4 separate regions of the Homo sapiens genome follow, and regions 1, 3 and 4 are each linked to region 2. Evidence: promoter capture Hi-C in human tissues and cell types (Jung and others, 2019). All regions are on one chromosome and are shown on one strand. The core of a region is centred on a gene start or on the middle of the fragment in contact, and the rest is flanking DNA. Distances in the headings are between cores, read along the strand shown.

Region 1 (5,904 bases), core at 246-2,745, 440 kb before region 2:
GCTCCCGCAGGGCTGGGGTCAGGGTGGGAGGGAGGTGCACGCCAGGAGCACTCAGGCCGGGCCATGGATGCCAGGCTGAGAAGCTGGACCTTGGCCTGGGAGAAGGGAGCCATGGGTGGCGTTAGAGCAGGGGAGGCCCATGTTGCAGTTGGAGCATTGAGTGGCAGAGTGGAAGGAGGGCTGGAGGAAGGGGTCTGGAGGCCAGGAGGGGGAGTGGGGTCAAATCAGGGAGAAATAGAGCTCCTTGAGCCCCAAAGCCGCTTGAACCTCAGTGCCCCAGCCTCAGTGGCAACAGGAGAGGGGACTGAGTGGTCTTGGAGGCAGTGCCAAGTCTCCGCAGAGGCAGATGGGCCCACCTCATCCAGGGCCATGGAAATGGTGGGTCATGGAGAACCCCAGGAGCTGAGGGCCCAAGGGGTTCACCTGCTCACAGGCCTGGTGATGGGGAGCTCACCACCTTCCAGACCAGCCTCTCACCCACTGATGGCTCTGACTCTGGAGAGACCCCTGTGGGTCCCAGAGTTGGCCTCTCCACCAAGGGGCGCCTTCCTCTGACAGCCTTGCGGCCTGGGACTGTCCCGCACCCACCCCTGAGAGCACCTTCTGGCCTGGTCACTAGACCCCAAAGTCCAGTCTCCTCTGGGATCTGCCCGATGAGGCCAAAAGGAACCTCGGCCTCCCGGTCTCCAAAATGGAGGCGGAACCATGGTCTCTTGTGGACACACAGACGCATCAGAAAAGCCAGTGCTCCCCTAAGACACCTCCTGTTGGGGGAACACAAACATTTTCCTAACCGAAAACGGCAAACCCATCCGCTGCAGAGCAGCGCCAGCCCCCTTTGCTCACCCCCCACCTCCCTAGGCCTGACTGCCATGGGCTGCCTCCGCCTCCACAAAACCAGCCCTACAGAGCGCTGAGTCCGCTTCTGCCCCCATCCCGCCCCTGCCCAGGCCCCTGGGATGGGTGGGCCTCCAGGTGCACCCCATTGACCTGAACCCTCCCGCCTCTGCCCGCTTCTAAACCTGTTCATTGATTGTTGATTATCGACTTACTCATTTCACAACGCACCCCTCTGATTCCCCGCCCTGCGTGTGACCGGGCCCCAGCCGGCCTCAGGGGTCCCGTTCTGCACCCCCTTTATCCGCATTTCTGCCAAAGCCCTCCACCCCCGGCTGGACTCTGCTCCTCCCAAGCCGGGCTCCTGGCCCCCACTCGGGGTTCCCCGGGAAGCGGCCCCAGCTCCCACCCCGAGGGAGGGCGCGCGCAGGTGGCTACGTGGCAGGGCGGGGGTCCCGGATCCTGGCGACCTCTCCCACCCCGGGCGCGGGCAGGGGTCCCGCGTGGGGCGGCGGTGACCTTGGCCGGGCGGCGCGCCGGCCCCGTGGGCGCGGGTCCCCGGGGCGGGGCGGGGCGGGGCGGGGCGGGGCGGAGCGCGGGGCCCGGCGGGCGGGGACGGCGCGGGCGCGACTGCGGCGGCTCGGGCGGGCGGGGGGCGGCGGCGCCAGCGGACACCGGAGCGGGCAGGAGCAGCGGCCGCGGCGCCGCAGGGACCAGCGGGCCCAGGTAGGCGGCCCGGGGCGGGGAGGGGGTCCCTGCGCAGCCCCCAGCCGGCCGTCCTCCCCGCCGCGCGTCCCTCCTTTGTCCCGGCCCCAGCCTCCCGGGCCTTGGGGCCGGGCCCTTCCCCGCGTGGCTCCGGGGCCCCTCGCCGGGCGTCCCCCGTCCCTTCCCGCCGGGCCCGGCCGGCCCCTCCGCGCTCACCTTGGACAGCTCCCGGCCGCCTCCCCTCCCCCACCCGGAGGGCGCCCCCCTGCCGAGCCCGCCCCACCGAGGCCCACCCCGCCGCCCCTCTCCGCATTGGTCCCCTCGGGCAGGGCCTCCTCCCTCCTGCAGCCGCCTTCTTCGCCCTCCGCCCCGCTGCCCAGCCAAGCCCCTCCCTCCGCGCCCCCTCCCCGGGGTGGGCTCCTCCTCTCCACCACTGAGGTCCTCCTGAGTCAAGGGTCGCCCCTGGGCTGGCCCCGCACTGTGCCTCTGCGCCCTCGGGCCCCCTAGAGCAGGCCCTTTCTCCATCAAACCCCTCACCGGCCAGGCGGCCCTGGGTCAGACCCCCGCCCCACCCTTGGTCAGGCGTGACCCCCGCTAGACCCCTGGGTCGCGGCTCTCTCTGCTTTCCTGACCCTGAGCTTTGCTTTGACACCCCCGCCCCCACCAACCACGCCGTGCCCGGCCGGGAGCCGGGCTTCAGGGACCCAGGGCTGGGGTAGATTGGCCCTGCCTGGACGTCTGGGGGTGGGCTGCCCCGCACAGGCGGGAAACCCCAGGAGTCTAGCCAAGCAGGGTGGGCTTCCAGCCCCGCTGTGCGCCTCCACCCCCCTGCTCTGTGACCTTGAGCCAGCCCCTCCTGCTCCTGCCTCGGTGCCCACGACCCCCTCCCTCCACCCGCACCCCCCAGGCGGTGGAGGTGGGAAGTGGCGTGGGCTTCGGGGCTGTTGAGTGCAAGCGCCTTTCTGGTCAGGGATTCCAGACCCAGCGGGGAGGACAGTACTGCTCATGGGGGCTGGAGCTTCAGTGCCCGCAGCAAGGCAAAGGCTGGATCTGGGTCCACAGAACCCATGGCCATTAGGACCCCAGGCCGGTCTTGGTGGCGTCTTTCTGCACAGCAGCGTGCCCGCCTCTCAGGGCGCCCACCCAGGAAAGGGCAGGGTCTGCAGCACAGGCCGCCTCCCCCCCACCACCAGCACCCCCAGCCTCCTCCGAATGCCGAGAAATTACTATGCATGTAGTCCACAAACCCGGCAGCCAATCACATGAGTTGGCATTGCCGAGGCGCCCAGAAGTTTGCCTGGCTCATCACAACTGGGGACTGTGTCAGCTGGCGCTTTCATCAGCCTCTTTTCTTTTCCTGGCAAATCTGTTACCCTTGATAATCCAGAAGGTGCCTTTGCAACCAACAGGCACAGCCAAGTGCCCTGCCCACCGGCCCCAAGCCCTTGTGACTGTGATCACAATTGTGATCGGGGTCTCCGCTGTACAGGGCACTGCCTAGGGCCTTTCTCCACCTTGTCACCTTACTTGCCCCAACAGTGGCTCGCATTTCACAGAAGAGAAAACGGAGGCTTAGGGACTTGAATTTGCCTGTTTAGGTTCAAACCACTGACCCCCGGGGAACCTCTGGACCCTCCCCATAAACACACCCCCACCCCCAGTGCAGCAGGTAGAAACTGGTTCCTCCTCCTCTCCCACTGTAGACCACCTTGCTGGGGAACACCCCTCCCCCACCCCCCACCGCTGCCCCAGAGCCTGGAAGGAGGAAGGGGAGGGGAGGACATCAATTCTGGAGATAAGCCACCCGCCCTCCCCCCAGCGTTCTTCCCCCACCTCCATCATTTCAGGATCTGCTGTGCTGTGTGACCTCCTCAGGCTGCTGGACCTCTCTGAGCCCAAGAAGGAAGAGAGGGGCTAAGAGGTGCCCCTCCCAGGAAGTGCTATTCTAAGGATCCTTCAGACCTGAACGGGAGGGGCTAGGGCACACCAGGCCATAGTTTGATTTTAGAGTTTAGGGAGTGGCGATTTTCCCGTTCAGCTTCTGGATTTTGTATTTTTGTGTCCCACCTGGGCTGCAAGACCCTTCCTCCCTGGGGCGGCTATTGGGAATCAGTGCCCTGATTTGCAAATTGTGGTTCTCAGATTCCCAGCCTCAGGATCCCATTTATGGCAGGTGAGGAGAGCAGCCCTGTAATACAAGTTCCAGCTGGATGCGGTGTCTCACACCTGGAATCCCAGCACTTTGGGAGCCCGAGGCGAGAGGAGCACCTGAGGTCAGGAGTTCAAGACCAGCCTGGCCAACATGGCGAAACCCCGTCTCTACTGAAAATACAAAAATTAGCCGGGTGTGGTGGTGCATGCCTGTAATCCCAGCTACTCTGGAGGCTGAGGCAGGAGAATTGCTTGAACCGAGGAGGCAGAGGTTGCAGTGAGCCGAGATTGCACCACTGAACTCCAACCTGGGCAACAGAGCAAGACTTGGTTTTAAAAAAAATAAGAAGGCCAGGTGCAGTGGCTCACGCCTGTAACCCCAGCACTTTGGGAGGCCGAGGTGGGTGGATCACCTGAGGTCAGGAGTTCAAGACCTGCCTGACCAACATGGAGAAACCCTGCCTCTACTAAAAATATAAAATTAGCCGGGCTTTGTGGTGCATGCCTGTAATCCTAGCTACTTGGGAGGCTGAGGCAAGAGAATAGCTTGAACCCGGGAGGTGGAGGTTGCGGCGAGCCAAGATTGTGCCATTGCACTCCAGCCTGGGCAGCAAGAGCGAAACTCTGTCTAAAAATAAATAAATAAATAAGAAGAATAAAATAAAATACGAGTTCCCAGGGCCGTTGCCCTGGCCGACCGATTCATCACACCTAGGGCTGCGGCCCTGACATATGCATCTTAAACACCCGACCATGTGCGGCTTCCATGAGGATTGGCCATCTCTGGGTTGGCGGAAGAGCAGGGGACCCATGGTTGTTGGAGACGGGCACCGTTTGAGCCACCAAACAGGCTCAGGGTGGCATGATGGCTCGGCAAGGTCTCAGAGCCAGGCAGGTGTGGAGCGAGAGGTGGAAGCCAGGCCTGCTAGCTTCCAGGGGCCCCTGCCACACTGGGAAGAGAGGGGGAAGCTGGCACAGCCTGGAAGGGACACCCACACCCGGGGAAGGAGTTTCGTGGGCATCCCGGCGTCTCCCACGCCTCTCCTAGCTCAGCGTCCCCCGGGGAAGCTCAGGCCCCAGATTTTGTTAGGGAGAAGTAAGCAAAGGGTGTTGGCTGTGCGCCCGCCTGTGGGACAGAACTGCAAAGTCAGCCACAAGCAAATGGGCCTTTTCAGGAGGCAGGAGGCACGGCAGCCACCTCCTCTGAGAAGCCGCCATGTCCTCCTCCCTCCCCGGGGCGTGGGGCTGTCCCCTCAAGCCTGGGTGGCCTTTGACGTGTGACCCTCCTCTCTGCACAGGCTCGGTCTGGGGTTCTTGCAGCTGGCACCAGCCCTCCCGGCCCCGGCCGCCCACCCGCCGCGGGGAAGATGCCGGAACAGAGTAACGATTACCGCGTGGTGGTGTTCGGGGCGGGCGGCGTGGGCAAGAGCTCGCTGGTGCTGCGCTTCGTGAAGGGCACGTTCCGCGACACCTACATCCCCACCATCGAGGACACCTACCGGCAGGTGATCAGCTGCGACAAGAGCGTGTGCACGCTGCAGATCACAGACACCACCGGCAGCCACCAGTTCCCGGCCATGCAGCGCCTGTCCATCTCCAAGGGCCACGCCTTCATCCTGGTGTTCTCCGTCACCAGCAAGCAGTCGCTGGAGGAGCTGGGGCCCATCTACAAGCTCATCGTGCAGATCAAGGGCAGCGTGGAGGACATCCCCGTGATGCTCGTGGGCAACAAGTGCGATGAGACGCAGCGGGAGGTGGACACGCGCGAGGCGCAGGCGGTGGCCCAGGAGTGGAAGTGCGCTTTCATGGAGACCTCGGCCAAGATGAACTACAACGTCAAGGAGCTCTTCCAGGAGCTGCTGACGCTGGAGACGCGCCGGAACATGAGCCTCAACATCGACGGCAAGCGCTCCGGGAAGCAGAAGAGGACAGACCGCGTCAAGGGCAAATGCACCCTCATGTGAGCCCGGAACGCCCGCCTGCCCGCCGCCCACCCCCACTGACCCCCGCTGCCTCCCCCAACACCGACACCCTCCTCGGCCTCCTCCTCTTCTCTCATCCTTCCTCCGACACCTCGGCTGGGGAAACCGAGGCCACCGCCCCCCCCTCCGCTGCCCCTGCCCACCCCGAGGCAGGGCTGGGGCTTTTCTTCCTCCCCTGCTCTCTCTCCACCCTCCTGTTCTGTCTGTACCCTCCAAAACCAAGAGCCGG
Region 2 (5,688 bases), core at 2,593-5,092:
AGGGCACGCCAGTCTTGAAGGTAGGGGGCTCCTGGAGCGGGGAGCTGGACAGAAGCGGCCACTTTTTGAGGTTGGGATCTGGGCGGGGGTGGGTCGAGGCCTGGCTGCCGGCAGCAACCGCACGGCTGAGCCCTCGGGGATGAGGCCTGAGTGTGGATCCCTGGGTCCCTGGACACTGTCTCCCCCGCAACTGACCCCCAAAGGCCTGTCCTCAGGCTGAACACTCTGTCCCCATCCCAAACGTGCAGAGGGGGGTCCTTCCCACTGCCTGGAAAATTGATGGGTGACAGACCTGCCTCATGATTGAGGAAGTGGGCCCAGAGAGGGCAGGAAACCCACTCGGGATCACACAGCAGGGCCCCAGAGAGGGCAGGAAACCCACTCAGAATCACACAGCAGGGGCCCAGAGAGAGTAGGAAACCCACTCGGGATCACACAGCAGGGCCCCAGAGAGGGCAGGAAACCCACTCGGGATCACACAGCAGGGCCCCAGAGAGGGCAGGAAACCCACTCGGGATCACACATCAGGGGCCCAGAGAGGGCAGCAAACCCACTCAGGATCACACAGCAGGGCCCCAGAGAGGGCAGCAAACCCACTCAGAATCACACAGCAGGGGCCCAGAGAGAGTAGGAAACCCACTCGGGATCACACAGCAGGGCCCCAGAGAGGGCAGGAAACCCACTCAGAATCACACAGCAGGGGCCCAGAGAGAGTAGGAAACCCACTCGGGATCACACAGCAGGGCCCCAGAGAGGGCAGGAAACCCACTCGGGATCACACATCAGGGGCCCAGAGAGGGCAGCAAACCCACTCAGGATCACACAGCAGGGCCCCAGAGAGGGCAGCAAACCCACTCAGAATCACACAGCAGGGGCCCAGAGAGAGTAGGAAACCCACTCGGGATCACACAGCAGGGGCCCAGAGAGGACAGGAAACCCACTCGGGATCACACAGCAGGGGCCCAGAGAGGACAGGAAACCCACTCGGGATCACACAGCAGGGTCAAAACTGGACAAGGGAGTGGAGTGTGGGTGCGCCTGTTCTCACCAAGGGCCCTGGAGCAGGAGGCCTCGACGGTCTCCCAGGCCCCAGCACTCACGGACCCCTCCCCATGTCGCCCTGTGCGTGCACACGGTCACCCCACACACGCCCCGTTTGACCTTTCCCCAGCAACATGAGCAGCCCGGAGCCCCCCACAGAGCCCCCCGAGCCCGACAACCCCACCTGGTCGACTCAGCCCACGTATAGCAACCTTGGTAAGCAGCTCCCCAGGGAGCCCTGGGCTGCGGGGGTGCAGGGAGCGGCAGGGGGGTGCAGGGAGCGGCAGGTGGGTGCAGGGAGCGGCAGGAGGTTGCCGGGCACCATGGCCTCTGGGAACAGCAGCAGCTGGTAAAATGAGTGACCTCCGGGAAGGCCCGGAGTAGGCCAGGGCTGAAAAATAACCTGTGGGTTGGTGGGCGGGGCGTGGTGGCTCACGCCTGTAATCCCAGCACCTTGGGAGGCTGAGGCAGGTGGATCCCTTGAGGCCAGGAGTTCAAGACCGGCCTGGGCAATATAATGAGACCCGCCCCCCATCTCTACAAAACAAAAAAAATGAGATGGACATGGTGTCAAGAGCCTGCAGTCCCAGCTGCTCGGGAAGCTGAGGTGGGAGGATCCCTTGAGCCCAGGAGGTCAAGGCTGCAGTGAGCCATGAAATAGAAAAAAATATATACCATTAAAAAGAGAGAGAGGCTGGGCACGGTAACTCATGCCTGTAATCCCACCCTTTAATCCCAGCACTTTGGGAGGCCAAGGAGGAGGATCACTTGAGGCCAGGAGTTCAAGACCAGCCTGGCCAACATGGCAAAACCTGTCTCTGCTAAAAATACAAAAATTAGCCAGACATGGTGGTGCATGCCTGTAATTCCAGCTACTCGGGAGGCTGAGGCAGGAGAATCGCTTGAACCTGTGAGGCAGAGGGTGCAGTGAGCCAAGACTGAGCCACCGCACTCCAGCCTGGGCGACAGAGGGAGACTCCATCTCAAAAAAAAAAAAAAAAAAAAAAAAAAAGGCCAGGTGCAATGGTTCAAGCCTGTAATCCCAGCACTTTGGGAGGCCGAGTCAGGCAGATCACCTGAGGTCAGGAGTTTGAAACCAGCCTGGCTAACATGGTGAAACCCCATCTCTACTAAAAATACAAAAATTAGCTGGGCATAGTGGCGGGCGGGCACCTGTAGTCCCAGCTACTTGGGAGGCTGAGGTAGGAGAATCGCTTGAACCTAGGAGGCGGAGGTTGCAGTGAGCCGAGATCGTGCCACTGCACTCCAGGCTGGGCGACAGAGCAAGACTTCAAAAAAGAAAAAAAGCAAGACAGACGCTTGTGCAAAGCCACGGAGGTAAGTGGGAGTCGCTGAGTGCTGGGTGGCATCACTCTCTGAAACTGATCCATCCTCCTATAAGCCTCAGTTTCCCCTTCTGTAAGCTCTGCCGCCCAGGCTGGAGTGCAGTGGCACAATCTCGGTTCACTGCAAGCTCCACTTCTCAAGTTCACACAATTTTCCTGCCTCAGCCTCCCGAGTAGCTGGGACCACAGGCGCCCACCACCAAGCCCGGCTAATTTTTTGTATTTTTAGTAAAGACGGGGTTTCACCGTGTTAGCCAGGATGGTCTCGATCTCCTGACCTCGTGATCCACCCATCTCGGCCTCCCAAAGTGCTGGAATTACAGGCATGAGCCATTGTGCATGGCCGCGTCCGGCAAATTTTTAAAAAATTTTTGCAGAGACAGGGTCTCACTATGTTGCCCAGGCTGGTCTCAAACCCTAGGTTCCAGTGATCCTCCTGCCTCGGCTTCCACCTTCCTAAGTGCTGGGATTACAAGCATGAGCCACCGGCGCCCAGCCTCATTACTTCCATGTTAGAGATGGGGAAACCGAGGCTGAGAGGTGGAGTCACGTGTCCCGTTCCCACTCCGCCTGTCCTCAACCCTCCCCCACTGTCTCTCCCTGCAGGTCAGATCCGTGCCCACCTGCTGCCCTCCAAGGCCTGCCGCCTCCGGACCCCTGGGTCCCTCTCCACCAACCCAGAGCCCCTGCCCCCACCCCTGCCCAAGAAGATCCTAACCCGGACCCAGTCACTGCCCACCCGCAGGACCCTCCATCCCAGCTCCATCCAAGTACAGCCGCCTCGGAGACCCTTTCTGGGGTCCCACAGTGTGGACAAGAGCCAGGCTGCAGTGGGACCAGCCTGTCTCCCTGCAGAGCTGACCTTTGGCCCGGCTGACGCCCCACTGGGCCTCTCCCTCCGCGATCTGCACAGCCCGGAGGCTGTGCACACTGCACTGGCTGCGCGGCAGCTGCAGGGCCTCCGTACCATCTATGCCCGGCTCCGTGCCCGGCTCATGGGGGGCCACCCCGGGCCCTGCCACCCCGGCCACAGCTTCCGCCTCCTAGACAGCTCACCCTGCGCAGAGAGCGGGGACGCCCTGTATTACCGCGTGGTGCGCGCGCACGAGGACGCCTGGCACATCCTGGTCGCCAAGGTGAGCCCCACAGCCCCACCCTCTCTGAGGTGTCCCCAGTGCCCCATCTTAGACATAACCCAGGGCTTGTTTCATTTGGCCTTTCTGTGAGTCAGTTCTCACACTGCTGTAAAGAAATACTGGAGCCGGGCGCGGTGGCTCACGCCTGTCATCCCAGCACTTTGGGAGGCCAAGGCGGGCGGATCAGCTGAGGTCAGGAGTTCAAGACCAGCCTGGCCAACATGGTGAAACCCAGCCTCTACTAAAAATACAAAAATTAGGTGTGGTGGCGGGCGCCTGTAAACCCAGCTACTTGGGAGACTGAGGCAGGAGAATTGCTTGAACCCGGGAGGCAGAGGTTGCAGTAAGCCAAGATTGGGCCATTGCACTCCAGCCTGGGCAACAGAGTGAGACTCCGTCTCAAAAAAAAAAAAAAGAAAAAGGCCGGGCACAGTGGCTCACACCTGTAATCCCAGCACTTTGGGAGGCCGAGGCGGGCAGATCACGAGGTCAGGAGATACAGACCATCCTGGCTAACACGGTGAAACCCTGTTTCTACTAAAAAGACAAAAAATTAGCCGGGCGTGGTGGTGGGCACCTGTAGTCCCAGCTATTTGGGAGGCTGAAGCAGGAGAATGGCATGAACCCAGGGGGCAGAGCTTGCGGTGAGCCGAGAACGCACCACTGCGCTCCAGCCTGGGCGACAGAGCGAGACTCCGTCTAAAAAAAAAAAAAAAGGCTGGGCAGCACAGTGGCTGACGCCTGTAATCTCAGCACTTTGGAAGGCCAAGGCGGGCAGATCATGAGGTCAGGAGTTCGAGACCAGCCTGGCCAACATAGTGAAACCCCCATCTCTACTAAAAATACAAAAATTAGCCGGGCGCGGTGGTGCGCACCTGAAGTCCCAGCTACTTGGAGGCTAAGGCAGGAGAATCACTTGAACCTGGGAGGCGGAGGTTGCAGTGAGCTGAGATTCGAAAATTGGGCTATTGCACTCCAGCCTGGGCGACAGAGTGAGACTCTGTCTCAAAAAAGAAAAACAAAAGAGAAGAAAAAAGAAAAGAAAAGAAAAAGGAATACTGGAGACTGGGTAATTTATAGAGAAAAGGGCCTTAATTGGCTCATGGTTCTGGTGGCTTCTGCTTCTGGGGAGGCCTCAGGAAGCTTCCAATCATAGTGGAAGGCGAGGCGGGAGCAGGCATCTCACACGGTGGGAGCAGGAGGAAGGGAGGGAGGAGGTGCTACTCACCTTTACACAGCCAGATCTCACGAGAACTCACTCGTTATCCCAACGACAGTGCCAAGGGAGATGGTGCTGAGCCATTCATGATAAACCACCCCCAAGATCCAAGTCGCCTCCCACCAGACCCCACCTCCAACACTGGGGAATGAGATTTGGTGGGGACACAGATCCAGACCATATTAGACTTGTTTATTTTGCAACTAACACGTGAATCAACGCAGTTAACCCAGGAAACCATGTTTCTAAAGTATGGGGCCATGGGTATGGCCTTGGAGCTCTTGTCAAAACCCCTCCCACACCTCTCTGGCCGGGGATCTGCTTTTGTGTTTTTTGTTTTGTTTTTTGTTTTTGAGACAGAGTCTCACTCTGTTGCCCAGGCTGGAGTGCAGTGGCGCGTTCTCGGCTCACTGCAACCTCCACCTCCCGGGCTCAAGCGATTCTCTCACCTCAGCCTCCGAAGTAGCTGGGATGACAGGCGCGCCACCACGCCCAGCTAGTTTTGCATTTTTTAGTAGAGACGAGCGTTCCCTGCGTTGGCCAGGCTGGTCTCGAACTCCTGACCTCAGCGATCCCCCTGCCTCCCAAAGTGCTGGGAAGGCGTGAGCCACCGCGCCCGGCCCAGGAATCTGCTTTCGAACTCATTGCCCAGGAACATCTTCTTCCCTGGCTTAACTTTCCTGAAAGTCCTTACTGGTGACTAACTTCCAAATTAACACTGACCTCCTGCTGCTGGAGGGATGCAGGCAGCCCCTAGCCGTAGTGGGGGCAGTTTGGGGGTGTGCGTGGGAGGCTTCGGGGCAGGTAGCACTGGGGCAGGCGGTGCTTGTGGGGGGCCCAGTGATCCAGGCCCCGACACCCCCTCTGCCTTGCAGGTGCCCAAGCCCGGGGCGGACGTGCCCCACCCGTGGGGCCTGGAGCTGCAGGCCTCCCTGTCTCCACACTT
Region 3 (6,509 bases), core at 3,006-5,505, 420 kb before region 2:
TCCTGACCTTGTGATCCGCCCGCCTCGGCCTCCCAAAGTGCTGGGATTACAGGCGTGAGCCACCGCGCCTGGCCAACATCCTCTATCTTAAGCTTAACAATGTTAATATCCCGTTCATGACATTTCACTGCAGTTTTGCAAGAGTTTGCCATTGGGCGAAGCTGGGCAGAGGGTACTGGCCCTCCTTCTATGCTATGTCTTACAACTGCGTATGAATCCACAGTGATCTCAATATTTACAATTTTAATTTAATTTTTAATGTTTCTTTTTTTGACCAGGGATACTGCTAAATTTGAAAAAGGGGAATTGGGCCAGGTGAGGTGGCTTCAAGCCTGTAATCCCAATGGGTGCCTGCAGTCCCAGCTACTCAGGAGGCCGAGACAGGAGGATCGCTGGAGCCCAGGAGTTGGAGGCTGCAGTGAGCAATGATCGAGCCACTGCCCTCAACCCTGGATGAGAGAGTGAGACCCTGTCTCAGATAAAAGGAAAGAAAGAAAGAAAGAAAATAAACAAGGCAGAGGCGGGAGGATCACTTGAGCCCAGGAGTTCGAGACCAGCCTGGGCAACATAGCAAGATCCCATCTCTAAAAAAAAAAAATGTAAAAATTAGCTAGGCATGGTGGCATGCATCTGTGGTCCCAGCTTCTCAGGAGGCTGAGGTGGGAGGATTACTTGAGCCTGGGAGATCAAGGCTGCAGTGAGCTGTGATAGAATCACTGCACTCCAGCCCGGGCGACAGAGCAAGACCCTGTGTCCAAACAACATCATCATCAACAACAACAAAAACCCAAAAAACAAAAGAAAGGGGCCGGGCGCAATGGCTCATGCCTGTAATCCCAGCACTTTGGGAGGCCGAGGTTGGTGGATCACCTGAGGTCAGTAGTTTGAGACCAGGCTGGCCAACATGGTGAAACTCCGTCTCTATTAAAAATACAAAAGTTAGCTGGACATGATGGTGGGCGCCTGTAAGCCCAGCTACTCGGGAGGCTAAGGCAGGAGAATAGCTTGAACCTGGGAGATGGAGTTTACAGTGAGCCGAGATCACATCACTGTACTTTAGCCTTGACGACAAGAGTGAGACTCCATCTCAAAACAAACAAACAAAAAACAAATAAACAACAAACAAACAAAAAACCAAAGGGAAGTTGATGGGAAAATATATGTGAAAATATGTCTATTGGGACATGCCACCTTTTCCATTTGTCTTAGGCTCCAACATGGTTTCACATGACACTTTTTCAAAATTGTTACAAATACTTGTATCTATGTATGGGGTACATGTGGTATTTGTTATATGCATAAAATATATAATGATCATGTTTGGGTATTTGGGGTGTTCATAACTTAGACTATTTCTCATTTCTATATGTTGGGAACAATTCAAGGACTCTCTTCTAGCTTTTTTTTTTTTTTGAGACAGAACTTCGCTCTTGTTGCCCAGGCTGGAGTGCAATGGCACGACCTCGGCTCACCACAACCTCTGCCTCCTGGGTTCAAGCCATTCTCCTGCCTCAGCCTCCCGAGTAGCTGGGATTACAGGCATGTGCCACCACACCCGGCTAATTTTGTATTTTCAGTAGAGACGGGGTTTCTCCATGTTGGTCAGGCTGGTCTCAAACTCCTGACCTCAGGTGATCCACCCGCCTTGGCCTCCCAAAGTGCTGGGATTACAGGCGTGAGCCACTGTGTCCGGGTGGGCGCCTGTAATCCCAGCACTTTGGGAGGCCGAGATGGGCAGATCACGAGGTCCGGAGATCGAGCCCATTCTGGCTAACACGGTGAAACCCCGTCTGTACTAAAAAATAAGCTTGGCGTGGTGGGACGTTCCTGTAGTCCCAGCTACTCAGGAGGCTGAGGCAGGAGAATCGCTTGAACCCGGGAGGCGGAGGTTGTGGTGAGCTGACGTCACGTCATTGCATGCCAGCCTGGGCAACAAGAGCGAAATTCCATCTCACACACACAAAAAAGAAAATAATAATAATAATAATAATTAAATAGAGATGAAGCCTCGCTATGTTGCCCAAGCTGGTCTCGAACTCCTGCCCTCAAGGGATTCTCCTACCTTGGCTTCCCAAAGTGTTTGGATTAGAGGCGTAAGCCACCATTATTCTAACTATTTTGAAATGTACAATACATTGTTGCTAACTACAGTCACCCTATTCTGCTATCAAACATTAGAATTTATTCTAATACTATATTTGATAGCAGAATACATCCTATTCTGCTATCAAACATTAGAATGTATTCCTTCTGTCTAACTGAATGTTTGTACTCATAACTCACCTCTTTTCATTTCCCCCCCACTCAACCTACACAACTTTCCAGCCTCTGGTATTGATCATTCTACTCTCTACCTCCATGAGATCAACTCTCTGGTTCCCACGTATCAGTGACAACATGCCCTATTTGTCTTCCTGTGTCTGGCTTATTTCACTTTTTCACTTAATATAATGACCTCCAGTCCCATCCATTTTGCTGCAAATGACAGGGTTTTATTCTTTGTTATGGCCGAATCATATTGCATTGTGTATTTAACACTTTTTTTTTTTTTTTTTGAGACAGAGTCTCACTCTATCGCCCAGGCTGGAGTGCAGTGGTGTGATCAAAGCTCACTGCAGCCTCAACCTCCTAAGCTCAAGCGATCCTCCTGCTTTCGCCTCCGAAGTAGCTGGGACTACTGGTGTGCGCCGCCAGGCCTGGCTAATATTTTAATTTTTTTGTAGAGTTGCGGTCTCAGTATGTTGCCAGGCTGGTCTTGAACTCCTGGGCTCAAGCGATCCTCCCGCTTCAGCCTCCCAAAGTGCTGGGAATACAGTCGTGAGCCACCGTGCCCTTCCCAAGCTCTATCTAGACAGTCATTCCTCTTGGGGGATGCCAGCTGGGGAGAGCCTGGAGGAGGGCAAGCAGGGAGATGGAGGTTTCTCTGTGCCCTGCAGGGCAGGCCACTGGAGTCCAGAGGATGAGCAGGGAGGTTCTTGCAGGGATGACAGGAACCCTGGGGAAGTTTATCTTGGATTTTGGCCAGCAGCTCCAATCCCAGGGCTCAGGTGGGGCGGCAAGGACACACAGTGTCAGCGCCTGATGAAATCCCTGAGGTCACAGAATATGGTGGCTCCATCTTCCTTCCAGGGCTGTGTACTGCTTTTGGAGACATACAAAGTGTTTTCCAATATTCCCAAGGGAGCTTGTGGAAAATGAAGATTCCAGGCCTGTAATCCAAGCATTTTGGGAGGCAGAGGCAGGAGAATCACTTGAGCCCAGGAGTTCAAGACCAGTTTGGGCAACATAGCAAGACCCCATCTCTAACAAAAAAAAATTAGCCAGGGCCAGGCACGGTGGCTCACGCCTGTAATCCCAGCACTATGGGAGGCCAAGAAAGGTGGATCACCTGAGGTCAGGAGTTGGAGACCAGCCTGGCCAAAACGGTGAAACCCTGTCTCTACTAATAATACAAAAATTAGCTGGATGTGGTGGTGCGTGCCTGTGGCCCCAGCTACCCGGAAGGCTGAGGTGGAAGGACTGCTTGAGCCTGGGACTTCAAAGCTGCAGTGAGCTATGACTGCACCACTGCAGTCCAGCCACGGCAATTGAGTGATACCCTGTCTCAAAAACAAAACGAAAACTAAACAAAACACAGATTTCAGGGTCCAGTTCCCTATAGGATTCTGGTTCATTCCATCTGTGTTGGGGCTCAGGAATTTGTGGATCCAGGGCCATGAGTTAGGAAACTGAGAAATCTTGGAAATGATGAGACAGGCTTGGGCAAATGACCTTAGGTTTCACCTTTCTGAGACCCAGTTTCCACCTCTGTAAAATGTGGATAGTAATCTCGCCTTCTGGCCTTATGCGGAGGGTCCCACGAGAGGGAGCCTATAAAGTCTTCAAGAAAGCGGTGCAGCAGTTATGATCACTGACATTCTTCCCCAGCAAATGAGCCCCCGGAGCTGGCATGCAGGATTCGAACCAGCTCACCTAGCGCGGGATTCGAACTCGCGAAACTACTCGCGCCTTCCTGACGTCACGAAGTCACCCTGGAAAGCCGCTCTTCGCCCCGCCCCCGGCCCCGCCCGCGCCCGGAGCCCCGCCCCACTCTCCTGGGCGCAGCCTACCCCGCTGCCTGCCCCGCGCCCCGCCCCCGCTCCGGCCTCCCGCAGCCGGGGCTCGCGATTGGCCTTGCCGGGACGCCAGGGCCCGCCCCCCGAGTGTCGGCCCCGCCCCCGCAGAGGGGAGCGAGCGCTCGCGGGCCGGGGCGGAGGGTTCGGCTGCGCGGCGGGGCTGAGGCGGCCGCGGGGCCCGAGCGCAGGTAAGGGCGCCCGCGAACCGGGCCAGGGGAAGTGAGGGCGCGGCCGGCGTCCCGGAGAGGGGACTGGGACAGCTCGGATTCGGCTGCGGACCGAGTTGGGGGTCGGAGTCGGCTGAGGAGGGGGGCTGGGTCTGGGGACCCGGGCTGCAACTGGAGGCTGGGGTTGGAATTGGGGACGGGGCTGCGCTTAGGGGGTCGAAGTTAGCTGGGGAGGGGCTGGGGTTGGGGATTGGGACTGCACTTGGGGCTCAGGGCTAGCTGGGGAGGGGGCGGGAGTTGCAGGTCGAGGTTAGCTGGGGACGGGGCAGGGGGTGCAGATCGAGGTTAGCTGGGGAAGGATTGGGTCTGGGCATTGGGACTCCACTTAGAAATCAGGGCCAGCTGGGGAGGAGGCTGGAGTTGCAGGTCCAGGTTAGCTGGGGAGGGGGCTGGAGGTGGGATTGGAGGTCTGAGTTAGCTGAGGAGGGGGCTGGGGGTGAGACTGGAGGTCTGAGTTATCTGGGGAGGGGACTGGAGTTGCAGGTCGAGGTTAGCTGGGGAGGGAGCTTGGAGCGGGATTGGAGGTCTGAGTTGGCTGGGGAGGGGTCTGGAATTGCAGGTCCAGGTTAGCTAGGAAGGGGCTGGTGGTGGAATTGGAGGTCTTGAGTTTGCTGGGGAGGGGGCTAGAGTCGCAGGTCGAGGTTAGCTGCCGAGGGGGCTTGGAGTGGGATTGGAGGTCCAAGCTAGCTGGGGAGGGGGCTGGAATTGTAGGTCGAGGTTAGCTGGGGAGGGGGCTGGAAGTGGAATTGGAAATCTGAGTTAGCTGGGGAGGACGCTGGGGATGGTGTTGGGGGTTGAGGTTAATTGGAGCGGGGAACAGGGGTTGAGTCAAGGGTGCAGCTTCTTTGAAGAGGGAGCTGGGAGTGGGGTTGAGGTTTGCAGGGAGCTGGAGAGGGGGCTGGGGATGGAGTTTGAAGTGGGGTTCATTGGAGAGGGGGCTGCAGAGGGAATTAGATGTTGAGGTTGTCTGGGGAGAGGACTGAGGAATGGGGTTGGTGAAGATGGGGGGGTGTGATTGACGGCCCAGGGGTTAGGGTTAGCTGAAAAGGGGCAGAAGGACAAAGCTGGGGTGAGCCAGGGAGTGGCTGGAGCATACAGGTGGGGGTCAGGCTTGTTCCAGAAAGGGTCTGGGGGCTATCAGGGGAAATGGGGAGCTTGTGAGTGTGTGGGGTGGAAGGGGGTTCAGGGAGAAGGAAGTTGGGGTGAGTTAGTGAGAAGGGAGGTGGGGGTAAGGTCCCAGGCTGGAGACACCTGGGGGCAGGTGTTTTGCTAGACATTGACTAATCAGGAGGAAAACGGGGTGTGGGGAGGTGTCTCAGGTAGGATCCAGTTAAAAGGAATTTGGAGAGGACTCACCCCTCTACTTTTGGGGGAGATGTTAATTGTTTGCTCTAGAACTGGGCACGGGGCAGAACCCCCTGGGGAACAGTGAGTTGAAGGAGACGGGAGTTCGGAATACTTTTTGAGGTTTATTTCTAGGATATAGGGTGCCAAGGAGAACGCTTCAGGAAGGAGAAAGGCTCCTGTCGGTGACTGAATTTTTCAGGAACTAAAGTGGGAGTTTTTGGGACGGTGCTATTGAGCGACGTGGGTGGCACTTTATTTTTCCTGGGGAGCGGGGGTTGCTAGGGGTTGGGAGGTGGGCGGTGGAAGACAGGCTTGATGAACAGAGGCAGCGGATCCCCAGCTAAGCGTCTTCACACGGTTGCTAGGTGTCAGCGAGGCAAATGCCAAGTTCACAAACTTGTTCCCGTCGTGGGATGCTGCGATCTTGCCTTGATGGAGTGTCGGGGGCCTCTGGGAGGTGCGCCTGTGTGTGTTCCGACCCAGCCTCTCGCTGCGGATTTGGCTGTATCATCTTTTGGAGGTGTTGTTTACTCCCCTGCAAAGCGGGAATAATAAAAACAGTAGCATGTGCCTCTCAGGGTCGAATTACGGGATGTATGCATGGACTATTTCCTAGCATATAGTGAGGGTACCTGAAGCATGGAGAATAATGGACTCAATCCAGTTTTTTTCTTTGGTGGGTTTGGAGATGGAGGAGTGGGATGACTGGGTTGTCACAGAGGAGAGGAAAGGAAGTGACTGGAACTTGACTCTAGTCCTGCAACCTTAGGAGCACACATCAGGGTCACCCCCAGAAGCTTTAAAAAATAACCTGCATGGC
Region 4 (6,587 bases), core at 319-2,818, 460 kb before region 2:
CCTGGGTCCAAGTGATTCTGATGCCTCAGCCTCCTTAGTAGCTGGGACTACAGGTGCCCGCCACCATGCCTGGCTAATTTTGGTATTTTTAGTAGAGATGGGGTTTTGCCGTGTTGGCCAGGCTAGTCTCAAACTCCTGACTTTAAGTGACCTGCCTACCTCGGCCTTCCAAAGTGCTGGGATTATAGGCATGAGCTACCACATGCAGCCCTGTTTTAGGGTGTTTCAAAGGCTGCAATTGAAGTGAAGCAGTCATCCAAAGGCTCAACTGGGGCAGGACCCTCTTCCATGATCACGTTCATGGCTGTTGGTAGCATTTGGTTCCTTATGGACGCTTGTGCTGAGGGTCTCATTGCCTTGCTGACTGTTGGCTGGAGGACACCCTCAGTTCCTTTCCCTCTGGATCTCTCCAGCATCTTAGCTTGCTTTGTCAAGACACGTAGGCTGAGAAGGCGAGAGACAGGCTCTGCTGGCAAAACAGAAGTCACAATCTCTCATAGCCTAATCGCAGAATGACATCCCATTCATTTGCCATTTTCTATTTGTTAGAATCAAGTCATCAGGCCAAGCGCAGTGGCTCATGCCTGTAATCCCAGCACTTTGGGAGGCCAAGGTAAGAGGATCACCTGAGGTCAGGAGTTCAAGACCAGCCTGGCCAACATGGTGAAACCCCGTCTCTACTAAAAACACAAAAATTAGCCGGCATAGTGGCACACGCCTATAATCCCAGCTACTCGGGAGGCTGAGGCAGGAGAATCGCTTGAACACGGGAGTCGGAAGTTGCAGTGAGCCAAGATCGCGCCATTGCACTCCAGCCTGAGTGACAAGAGCGAGACTCTGTCTCAAAAAAAACCTTTTTTTTTTTTTTAGAGATGGGGTCTCACTATGCTGCCCAGGCTGGCCTTGAACTCCTGGACTCAAGCGATCCTCCCGCCTCGGTCTCTTAAAGTGCTGAGATTACAAGTGTGAGCCACTGCGCCCTGCCAAGATTTGGTTTTTAACTTACGCGTTACCTCCTATACTTATTTTTTCATGGTTTGAACATGTAACATCTACTTTCTTAGCAATTTTGCAGTATGCAATGCATTGTTACGAGCTGTAGCCACCATGATGTACAGTCGATCTCTTGGACTTACTCCTCCTGCCTATCAACAGAGATTTGTTGAAGGGATGAATCTGCTTCTTCAGCCGTCGGTAAGGGGATCAGCAGCGAGGACGCTGAGAGAGGAGCCGCCTCCGTTGGAAATCCCTTCCCATCCACCTCCAAGCCTCTTTCCAAGCGGGATTCAGCACCAGGCGCCCCTGGACAGCTCTGGAAACCCAACCCTGCCGGAACCGTTCCTCGCCAATCCGGGTTTCCCGCCGGGGCCGCTTGGTGGCTGCGCCCGCCGCTCAGCGGGAGGAAACCCCTTTCCTGTGCCGGTAGGAGAGGTGGAGTCGCATATGAGTGGCAGGTTTCGCAGCCAATAGTATGGAAAGTTCTGCCAGCGGGTCTCGGGGAGGCCAATGGGCAGGGGCGTGGGCGGGGCGTGGACCAGCCGCGCCGAGCGGGGCCTCTCCGGGCCGCGTCTGTGGGGTCGAGACTGCGCGGCCGTTGGGCGTGCAGCGGCGCCAGTCGGCGGACGAGGGGCCCCCGGGAGGTAGGTGCGGGCAGAGAGAGGACCTGGGGCGGCGGGGCGGGGCGGCGCTGAGCGGCCGGGGGTCTGTTGGACTCTACCCGCACGTTAGCCGAGGCCCGTCTCCGGTGCCCGGTAGCGCGAGGCACACAGAAGGCGCTCAATAAGTGCTGATTGAATGAATGAGCCCGTGCCCTCCTCATCCCGGCCCGAGCAGCCTCCGGTTTGAGAGCGTGCAGGCCACCCTCACCTTCACTGTACAGACTGAGGTATCCAGATGCCGGACAGGTCTTTATTGGGCGCCTACTGTGTGCCTGGGTGGCTCTGCGCTGGGTGCAGCTGGCCCTGAGCAAGACAGACAGCCTGGTCCCGCCCAGCTCACCGCCGGGGGGGAGGGACGACTTTAAATGACTTAAAATAATGTAATTCCTAGCTCCCTCTGTAGCACAAAATAAAAGAAAATAACACCAGGGAAGGGGGCGGGGAGAGCTCTGAGTGGAGACATCTGAGCAGTGACCCGAAGACCTGAATGCAGTGAGGTAGCGGGGCCATGAGGCGCTTGGGGCTGATGGTGGGGGAGAAAACCCAGTTGGGGAAAACTCAAGGACAGGGGAGGAGCTGAGATTCCTCCTAAGAACGGTGACATTTTGGGGTCCAGGGTGAAACCGACTTCACTTTGGCCCATTGCATCAGGTAAAATGCGGCCCTTATCAGTGGCCACACGCTTCCCCTCGTCCATGTGTTCAGCCAGCGGTTTTTGAGTATCTGTTCTGCAGCAGGCCTTCCGGCGGGTACAGGGATATGGTTTAGGGCAGGAGTCAGCCAGGGGCAGAGAGGGAGGCCCTTTTTTTTTTTTTTTTTTTTTTTTTGAGACGGAGTCTTGCTCTGCAGCCCAGGCTGGAGTACAATGGCGCGATCTCGGCTCACTGCAAGCTCCACCTCCTGGGTTGAAGCAATTCTCCTGCCTCAGCCTCCCGAGTAACTGGGATTACAGGCACGTACCACCATGCCCAGCTAATTTTTTTTTTTTTTGAGACAGAGTCTTACTCTGTCACCCAGGCTGGAGTGCAATGGCTTGATCTTGGCTCACTGCAACCTCCACCTCCTGGGTTCAAGTGATTCTCCTGCCTCAGCCTCCCAAGTAGCTGGGATTACAGGTGCCCACTACCACACCCAGCTAATTTTTGTATTTTTAGTAGAGACAGTGTTTCACTGTGTTGGCCAGGCTGGTCTTGAACTCTCGACCTCAGGTGCTGGTCTCGAACTCTCGACCTCAGGTGATCTGCCCACCTCAGCCTCCCAAAGTGCTGAGATTACAGGTGTGAGCCACCACTCCCAACCGAGGGAGGCCCTTTTGAGGGGTCCTGGATGCAGAGAAGCAAGAAAGAAGAAGGAGGCCTCGCTGGAAGGTCAGGGGAAAGAGAGCAGTGTTCCAGGTGGAGAGAGGAGAACCCATGCAGAGGTCCTGAGGCACGAGCAAGCTTGGCACAGAAAGGACCAGTGAGGGCCGAGGCGAGGCAGGAGCTTGTCATGCAGAGCTTCAGCCTCAGGGTACAGAGTTTAGACTTTATTTCGGGGCATGGGGAAGCCATGGACCACCACCATCCAATAGCATGTTCTGCAGTGATGAGAGTGTTCCCTTTGCTGTCAAATACGGTAACCACAGAAGTCAAGTAGGCTTGTGTGACTACTGAGCGCTTGAAATATGGCCAGGGAGACTGAGGAGCGGAATTTTGTATTTTATTTAGTTTTTTTTTTTTTTTTTTTTTGAGATGGAGTTTTGCTCTTGTTGCCCAGCCTGGAGTGCGGTGGTGCCATCTTGGCTCACTGCAACCTCTGCCTCCTGGGTTCAAGCGATTCTCTTGCCTCAGCCTCCAGAGTAGCTGGGATTACAGGTGCCTGCCACCACGGCCGGCTAATTTTTGTATTTTTGGTAGAGACGGCGTTTCACCATGTTGTCCAGGCTGGTCTCGAATTCCTGACCTCAGGTGATCCACCCACCTCGGCCTCCCAAAGTTCTGGGATTGCAGGTGTGAGCCACTACACCCAGCCTGGATTTTTTTTAATTTTGATGAACTTTTTTCTTTTTTTGAGACAGTGTATTAGTCAGGGTTCTCTAGAGGGACAGAACTAATGGAATAGTTATATATATAAAGGGAAGTTTATTAAGTATTAATTGCACACGATTACAGGGTCTCACAATACATTGTCTGCAGATTGAGGAGCAAAGAGAGCCAGTCCGAGTTCCAAAACTGAAGAACTGGCCAGGTGCAGTGGCTCACGCCTATAATCCTAGCACTTTGGGAGGCCGAGGCAGGCGGATCACGAGGTCAGGAGTTCGAGACCAGCCTGGCCAACATGATGAAACCTCGTCTCTACTACAAATACAAAAAAAATTAGCTGGGAGTGGTGGCGCGTGTCTGTAATCCCAGCTACTAGGCAGGAGAATTGCTTGAATCCAGGAAGCGGAGGTTGCAGTGAGCGGAGATTGCACCATTGCACTCCAGCCTGGCAACAGAGCGAGACTCTGTCTAAAAAAAAAAAAAGAAAAAAGAAAGAAAGCTAATGCAGTGCCCCTGATGTTCACAGTTGCTGGACTGAGACATGAGCCTCCAACTGTGTGGTTGGGCTCGGTAGCACATCGTGGGACTTGGGTGTGCGCCCACAGATGGTTTGGCCCTGCAGTGACCAGAGCAGCCCAAGCCGCCACCATGGTGAAATTGCTAGTGGCCAAAATCCTGTGCATGGTGGGCGTGTTCTTCTTCATGCTGCTCGGCTCCCTGCTCCCCGTGAAGATCATCGAGACAGATTTTGAGAAGGCCCATCGCTCGAAAAAGATCCTCTCTCTCTGCAACACCTTTGGAGGAGGGGTGTTTCTGGCCACGTGCTTCAACGCTCTGCTGCCCGCTGTGAGGGAAAAGGTAAGGGCTCCCTGGGCACTAGCAGCAGCCCTTGGCACCTTATGGCCAAGGGACTCTGATGCATTTTCAACACTGATGCCAAGTTCAGTGAAGGCCTTGATGCTGTAAGGGTGACGGAAAGTAGGAAGTGAATTTGCTGTGTGATTGTGAACTGGTTACTTTCTGTCTCTGTGCTCTACCGGCCAAACAAGGGGTTTGGACCAGACCTGGGATTCCCAACAGGTGGACTTGTCGGTTGTCACCTGATAATCAGACCAGACTACCCACCTAGGTAGGGCACACTCTGTCCTGAAGCTGGAAAGCATGGCCTCTCTTCGGTTCCTATATCAGTCAGCTACTGTTGCGTAACAAATTATAGCAAACTGAGCACCTTAGGACTACAGACGTTTATCATCTCACAGTTTCTGTGAGTCAGGGGTCTGGGCACTGCTTCAGGAGCTCACAAGGCAGCAGTCACAGTGTCTCCTGGGCTGTGGTCTCATCTCAACGTTCAACCGGGGATGGGTCGGCCTCTAAGCTCATGTGGTTGTAAGCCAGGTTCAGTTCCTCATTGGTTGTCAGACCGAAGGTGTCTGTTTGTCAGTGTCTGTTGGCTGGGGCAGCCCTCAGAGCCTGGCCACGTGGACCTCCCCAGCATGATCAGTTCCTTCATCAGCAAATGGAGAAGATGGCCATGACTCTGTGTAAGACAGAGGGCACAGTCCCATGTCATGCAGAGGTGACAGGGTATCCCTTCCCCTCTGCCCCAGTGTCCTGCTGGTTAGAAGCAAGTTCAAGTCCTTCCCATACTCAAGTGGCCAGGACCTCACAGGGTATGGCTGTCAAGAGGCAGGGGCTTCTGGGGCCATCTTGGAGTCTGTCCACCCCAACTCCTGACAGCATCATCCTCTGCTGACCTGTTCCTTGAGCTCCCCCATATCAGCAGCCCAGAGTGTGGGTCCCCTGTCAGGCCACAGTGTGACCAGCCCTGGCCATGCTTGCTGGGTGACCCTGGGTGAGTGGCTTCCTCTCTCTGGGCCAGTGCCAGATGTGACATTGAATTTGTGTTGGTTACATACTTGGTGGAGATATGAGGACCCCCTGTTCTTCCTCCCAACGAAAGCATGGAAGCCCTAAGCTTATCCCCCAACCCCTGGCCCTGCTTTTCCTCGTGCCTAGTGTCCAGAAAGGAGGAGAAGGGCTGTTGTCTGGGATTAAATCATCTGAGCCTGTTAGTGTGGCAGAGTAGAGTTCCAGGGTGGCTCCCTGAGCTTCCAGCCCCTGCTCCGCACGCCCCATGCTCTTCCCTCCCCTCGAGTGTGGGTAGGGCTGGGACTGCCGTGCGTGTCACTCCTGCCATTATGTCAGAATCCCAGCAGAGGGGATGTTGCAGCTGTGATGACCGCCCCAGATCGGTTAGCGCTGAGTTCATCAAAAGGGAGGGGGTGGGCCTGGCCTAATCAGGTGAGCCACTCACCCTCCTGCTGGCCTTGGAGAAGCAAAAAGCCAGGGTGTGCCAGGAGAAGGGCATGAAGCGAGGACCCGAGGGCAGCCTCTCGGTGCCAAGAGCCATCCCCGCCAACAGCCAGCCAGGACACGGGGCCTCAGTCCACAGCCACCAGGAGGTGGACTCTTCCGACCTCCAGTGAGCTTGGAAGAGGACCCTGGGTGTCAGTGAGATCTCAGCCCTGATGACACCCTGCGAGACCTGGAGCGTAGGGCCCAGCTAGCCCGCACCTGGATTTCCACCGTTCAGAGCCGAGACACCGCATTCCTGCTGTTCCGCGTGGCTGAGTCTGCATTCGTTCGTTACGCGGTGTGTGAAGACTGACATCTGCACTGCGAGGATGGAGATCTTGGTCATCTCTGACATCTCCTGCATCGCAGAGGCCACTGCCAGCCCCCCTTTTCCCCCATGGTCATGGTGTCACCCCCGTCACCCTCTGACTGCAGGCCTGGGCGACTGCGGGGAGCTTGCTCTTCCCTCCCCCTCATCACAGTGGCCTTCTCATGGCACCCAAACCTTTCCCGCCGTTCTCCTGTCCTCGGGCTGGTCAGGCGGATGAGGTCC

The links. Contacts are between HindIII fragments. The study calls those that stand out against the background at their distance.
Region 1: a contact is called between the fragment with the promoter of DIRAS1 here and a fragment that was not itself captured in region 2, in 5 of the 25 tissues and cell types used here (dorsolateral prefrontal cortex, heart left ventricle, lymphoblastoid cells and 2 more).
Region 3: a contact is called between the fragment with the promoter of GNG7 here and a fragment that was not itself captured in region 2, in 2 of the 25 tissues and cell types used here (dorsolateral prefrontal cortex and lymphoblastoid cells).
Region 4: a contact is called between the fragment with the promoter of SLC39A3 here and a fragment that was not itself captured in region 2, in 1 of the 25 tissues and cell types used here (dorsolateral prefrontal cortex).

Annotation. Positions count from the first base shown.
Region 1 is chr19:2,716,963-2,722,866 of GRCh38, reverse strand. DIRAS1 (DIRAS family GTPase 1) reads left to right here and starts at 1,495. Exons shown (of 2, transcript NM_145173.4): 1 at 1,495-1,563; 2 at 4,992-5,904. The coding sequence starts at 5,061. The coding sequence ends at 5,657. The HindIII fragment of the contact is 24,571 bases long and covers 1-5,904 here.
Region 2 is chr19:2,276,419-2,282,106 of GRCh38, reverse strand. PEAK3 (PEAK family member 3) reads left to right here. Exons shown (of 4, transcript NM_198532.3): 1 at 1-20; 2 at 1,172-1,257; 3 at 2,994-3,523; 4 at 5,618-5,688. The coding sequence starts at 1,176. Among named protein-coding and RNA genes, the nearest start is that of PEAK3, 2.9 kb to the left of the region's middle. RefSeq lists an enhancer at 77-216. The HindIII fragment of the contact is 7,382 bases long and covers 152-5,688 here.
Region 3 is chr19:2,700,440-2,706,948 of GRCh38, reverse strand. GNG7 (G protein subunit gamma 7) reads left to right here and starts at 4,255. Exons shown (of 5, transcript NM_052847.3): 1 at 4,255-4,303. RefSeq lists a silencer at 3,970-4,359. The HindIII fragment of the contact is 6,266 bases long and covers 951-6,509 here.
Region 4 is chr19:2,734,998-2,741,584 of GRCh38, reverse strand. It overlaps SLC39A3 (solute carrier family 39 member 3), which reads left to right and starts at 1,568. Exons shown (of 3, transcript NM_144564.5): 1 at 1,568-1,640; 2 at 4,206-4,537. The coding sequence starts at 4,328. RefSeq lists enhancers at 1,287-1,336, 2,037-2,086, 5,714-6,214, 6,215-6,587 and silencers at 1,397-1,796, 2,205-2,472. The HindIII fragment of the contact is 11,347 bases long and covers 1-4,376 here.